Regions from separate parts of the Homo sapiens genome. Here region 1 is linked to region 2. The links are contacts of gene promoters, found by promoter capture Hi-C in blood cells and fetal thymus (Javierre and others, 2016). All regions are on one chromosome and are shown on one strand. The core of a region is centred on a gene start or on the middle of the fragment in contact, and the rest is flanking DNA. Distances in the headings are between cores, read along the strand shown. Region 1 has its middle 79 kb from the start of DSC3. Region 2 holds the start of DSG3 (desmoglein 3).

Region 1 (2,700 bases), core at 31-2,530, 480 kb after region 2:
CCAAGGGATTGTACTATGCAGCAAGTTTTGAGAACCCACAGCTCAGCTTATGATAGTTACATCAGAGATAAAGAGTGGGAGTTGAATTTGAGGCATTTTTAAGGTGTGAATTTCAGAGCAGTGTATATACATTACTGTATGTAAGAATACCCAGAAGATCTTGAAAACTACAGATTCCGAGTCAATAGGTCTGAAGTGAGGCCTGAGATTCTGCATTTCTAACAAGCTCCCAGGTGATGTCAAAGCTTCTTGTCCTTAGACCATACCTTGTGGAGGAGGATTATGCATTTTGCATAGGGGAGAGAGGGAGAAAAAACATCAAGAATGATTTATTAATTCTGACATTGGTGACTAAGGGAATCTGATCATAAGAATTTAGAGAAAGATCATGAACTCAGTTTTGAACATATTGAGTGTAAATGTGCCCATGAAAAATCTGAGAGAACATGCAAGTTCTATAGCTTGGAGGAGGTGTCTGTACAGGAGACAAAGATGTGTGCATCATCAGCCTTCTGAGAACAGTTGAACCACAGGAGTTGATAAAAATGCCTGGGTATAGTGTGGAGTGTGAGGTGGGCTAAAGACAGATCCTGAGAAAAGTAAGAAGAGAACACTAAGGTGAAAAAATAAGATTTTTCCAGGATATAGGAGGATAACCAGTAGGATGATATGTCATAGAAGCCAAGGGAAGAGAGAGGAATTCAATAAGAGAGCAATCAACTCTGACAAAGTCTGCTTGAGAGTCCCCATAAGATTACTGAAAGAGGCCCATGCAATATCGCAATAAAGAGGTCACAGATGAACCTAGTGAGAGTGGCTCTGGAGTCCTTGTTCTGGAAAGCCGACCACTGTGAGTGGACAAGTGGATGAGTACCTGGAGGCAAAGAAGTATTAAAAATAGGACCGTATTTCTTAGCCATGCTGCCTGGGCTGTGGAGGGAAGAGGAAGAGATAGATGGTAGAGGTAGTCTCAGGGGGCTAGGGAAGGTTTCTTTTTGTTTTCTTGGTTTTTTTTTTTTTTTTTTTCCTTTTACTAACTAGATTTGGCATTAATTTTGATCATCTCTCTTTCTAAGAGTAGGTTTATTATCTCTTTTATTTGATTTCGGCCTGACTCATTATCTTAGTTTACACTCTGCTCCTAGTTTAAGTCATTAAATACATCCTTAACATCTTCCTGTTACTAATTCTGTCCTTAGTTTTGAGTATAAATTGTTCACAAATGGCCTTTAAATTCTTTCAACATTGACAGTCTACCCTGTTCCCTGGTTCCCAGCTTCCCTGACTATTTTTGTTGCCTCTTCTCATGCAAGTCTACCTCAGAACATCTGTTCTCAGTACTTTCTTTGTCTCTACTGAACCTGAGCTGGTAGTAATTTCCTTACTCAGGGCTGCTCTTTTTACCCAGAGTTCTATAATCTAACACATTACAACAGATTTTTGTCCTTGATTGTATATCAGAATCACTTTAAAAATACAGATGACTGGGCTTCACCCAAAGTCATTTAAATCAGAGCCCCTGAGGTGGGCCTTGGGCCCCAGCATGTATTTCTTGTGTGTGGTTGATGTGGTGCAGAAAGTGCTACCCCAAAATAGGGCTCTTTGGCATTTGAGGAACCAGCAGAAGCAGGAAGGCCACTCTCACTCTTCCTCCTCCATTATCCCCTGAAGCAGGTCATAAGACCTAGGAAACCTCTCCCATCTATTCCGCTGCTTCTCCTCTGAACACCCTCATTTGAAAGGTGTCCTGCCCTAAAACCGGAGGAAAGGCATGTCACTCAGAAACACCAAGAAGGATCTGGACAAACAAACCTTGTCAACTTCCCTTCAATTTCTTACCATTCAAACTTCTGCATGACTGTCCATAACAATACATGGTTTTCCCTGGGTCTTTCTGTCTTCATTTTTGAAGGCTGCCATGACATGAACAACTGCCTTTTGTCATGAGGAGTCAGCAATGCACCTTATGATGGGTGAGAAAAAAATCTGTTCTCCTCTACACAATCAGGTTTGAGAAGCACTGCTTTATAGGCGGTGGAACGTTGTTTCTTCTGCACAATTCAAAGAAAACCAAAATACCTATTTTAACAAGTTAACAGATTTCTTCATCTATATCTAGATGAACATATTGATCTTAGGAATGTTATTTTTATAATATCACAAAAACTTATTGAAGGAAGACAGAATTATTATAAGCAGAAAGTGTATGGCTAGGATAATTCCTGGAAGGAAGTGTGAATTAAGACAGGAAGGGGAAATGAGGGAAACGTCTGGAAACAATGTCTCAAGATTGAAGAGACTAAACAGAAGCTTGGAAAGATACTAGTATCAAACCAGAAGGACCTGGAAGAGTGACAATGAAACTGTAGCTAGGATAGGGGTCCAGGGGAGACAGATGATTTTGTAGAATTCCATATTTATAATAGGGAGAAGCAAGTTAGCTTAGAGTTTCAGGTGGCTGTTAGGAAACAACTCTCTCCTCCAAACATGAAGTTATATCTGAATCACTGACTGATATAATTTTGCTTTCATCAAGAACTCAAGAAATATTCAGGCTGGAGCTAAACCATGTTAGGAAGGAGAAAGCAAGGTTTTTCAAATCCTTATCACCTGGTTCTTTTCTAATAATTTGCCAACATATATCTCATTTGTACCCTGAATGCCTACTTCATTGACAAAGATACATCTTCCACTCCTTAT
Region 2 (2,700 bases), core at 81-2,580:
CAAAAAAATTAGCTGGCTGTGGTGGTGCACGCCTGTAATCTCAGCTACTCAGGAGGCTGAGGCACGAGAATCACTTGAACCCCAGAGGCAGAAGTTGGAGATCGCACCACTGCACTCCAGCCTGGGCAACAGAGCCAGACCTTGTCTCAAAAACAAAAACAAAAACAAAAATCTTAGGGAGAGCTAAGAAAGTCCTTTCTTGAGATCTATCTCCCTGTGACTTCTTGAAGTCCATTTATCTCAATTTTTTTCATGAAGAAATGAGGTAAATTGATGCCTAGGCCAACCCAGCTTATCATGGAAACCATACAAATTAGCATTAGGAATTGTTTTGACATTCATTTTTAAGGTATATTTAACTATTTTGATATCTCCGTGTAACAGATAATATTGTGACTTTTCTTTTTTTTTTTTTGCTATAAGAACACAGTTAAGGAGTAAGTTAGTCTGTAACATCCAGGTTTTAAACAGTCTGTAACATTCCGTTTCTCTTTTAGATAATACTATGTACGACTTTCTCAATCAACAGAAGTATTACTTTTCTGAAAAAAATGGCTTTAAAATGTTGTATGTCTTTCCCCCCATCCCCAAAGGCTGACATTTTCTTTTGGCACATAATAGCTAAACATAAATACTTACTTAATAATCCTCCCAACTTCTCTAGAGTCAAACACTGCTTTGATTTTAATTCTGCGATTTTTTACTTTTAAAAGCGTGTCAGGTATCAAGCCCAGGCGTGTAGAGTTCTTAGCTATATGCTAAGAGACATGTAATCTTGGAAAATAGAAGTGGCTCCTGTGTTCTTGTTTGTGGGTTAGAAAAACTAGTAAAAGCATAACTTTAAAGAAAGTGAAAATGTTGTGGAAAATATAACCTGTGATTAAGATTACTTAATTCATTAACTAAAAAAAATTCTAAATGGTTTTTAAAACTCATTTCTTTCTGGTTTATTTTTCTATGTAAAATACAACATAAAAAACAACAAAAGAAGGAAATTGGTAATCTTCACGATTTCATTTCAAAGTGTTGATTTCCACTGCACTCCTTTTAGAATTTATAATAAAGATTGTGCAATCAAATATAATATTCTTTAACAAGGGAGGAAGCAGGGAAGTTTGTGATTATTAGGAAAATCCAGGACTTACCACGAAGATGGCCAGAGCCCCTGTAGTTCTGGGGAAGAGCCCCATCATTGTCTCTGATTTCCCTGGTGAAAAAGTCCAAGTGAGCCGCTGCTTCTATCCTGCCAGCCGTCTGCAGTTGATGTCTAAGAAAAGCCCTCTGCAGCGTCTCTGCTGCTTTCCGAAGGAGTCTACAGATGGTCTGTTATGCGGTCCCTCCCCACCCTAAACCAAGGGTAGGTCTCACCAGAAACGCTTGCATCACCTTTGCTCCCAGGTAAAAACTTAGCCACACCTCGATTCCTAAAGCAATGAAATCCTTTGTTGGAAGCTGAAAGAAAAGTTCACAGGCTAAAGACAAAGTTTAATAGGAAGGTACCAGATGAATAATAAATTAATCATGATGTGGAAGTGCAAAAGCTAGTCCGGACTACACTTTGTCAGTGTTGATGTCTTATGGCTGAATCTAGTTGACTATGGTTACAATGAAAACCGAAAAGCAAAGCAAAACGTACAAAATCCCCCAAAATCTAACTTGTAAAAGAGCATTTATTTTCAGCCTGAGTATGTGTGGGTAGATCTAAAGTTAAGCAAAATGTAGATGTTAAGCAATGATATATTTTATTGAAAGGCACTAAAAATATGAAGAAGAAAAACATCCCATTAAGCAACTATGAATGTAGGCTTTGAATAAAAAAAAAAAAAGAAATAAAATTGAACAGTTATATGGTGCCTTGAATATTTGAAATATATAAATAATGCGTTGCAAAATTACTCTGATAATACTCAAATGACATCTTTTATACTGTATTTCTTTTCATTTATAACTTTCAAAAAAGCCTAGATTGCCTAATAAGGTAGATTATCTTGGTGCTCTTTTCATTACTCAAGACATTTTCCCCAGTGTGGTGAACCTGCTTGCTGTTACATACTCGGAAGTGCTTAAATACTTCGACTCTAACCCAAGATAAAGCAGAGGGGAAAAATTACCAGCCCCATTTTAGCTACTTTGCTTATAACATTAGAATTTAAAGTACTTTTTACAGTTTCAGAAATATTGAAAGAAAGGTTTGGTAGAAGAGCAATTTTATCTTTGCAAGTATTACACATTAGGTTTTAGAAACCACTTAATCACAGTTTTTTTTTTGAATCGGGGTCTCGCTCTGTCGCTCAGACTGGAGAGCAGTGGCGCGATCTCGGCTCACTGCAACCTCTGCCTCCCGGGTTCAAGCAATTCTCCTGAATTGAGGAGGCTGTCTCCTGCCTCAGGCTCCCGAGTAGTACAGAAAATGAAACATTATTCTTATTTATTTATTTATTTATTTACTTACTTACTTACTTGAGACTGCGTCTCTTTGTGTTGCCCAGGCCGGAGTGCAATGGCGCGATCTCGGCTCACTGCAAGCTCCGCCTTCCGGGTTCAAGTGATTCTCCTGCCTCAGCTTCCCGAGTAGCTGAGATTACAGGCTCCCGCCAACTCGCCCGGCTAATTTTTGTAGTTTTAGTAGAGATGGGGTTTCACGTGTTAGTCAGGATGGTTTTGATCTCCTGACCTCGTGATCCTCCTGCCTCAGCTCCC

The links. The method cuts DNA at HindIII sites, captures the fragments that hold promoters and counts their contacts. A CHiCAGO score of 5 or more calls a contact.
Region 1: a fragment that was not itself captured here is called in contact with the fragment with the promoter of DSG3 in region 2 in 1 of 17 cell types (M2 macrophages); the score reaches 5.2 in M2 macrophages.

What each region holds. Positions count from the first base shown.
Region 1 is chr18:30,962,361-30,965,060 of GRCh38, reverse strand. No RefSeq gene overlaps it. Among named protein-coding and RNA genes, the nearest start is that of DSC3, 79 kb to the left of the region's middle. The HindIII fragment of the contact is 2,065 bases long and covers 248-2,312 here.
Region 2 is chr18:31,446,371-31,449,070 of GRCh38, reverse strand. It overlaps DSG3 (desmoglein 3), which reads right to left and starts at 1,330. Exons shown (of 16, transcript NM_001944.3): 1 at 1,146-1,330. The coding sequence starts at 1,193. The HindIII fragment of the contact is 20,227 bases long and covers 1-2,700 here.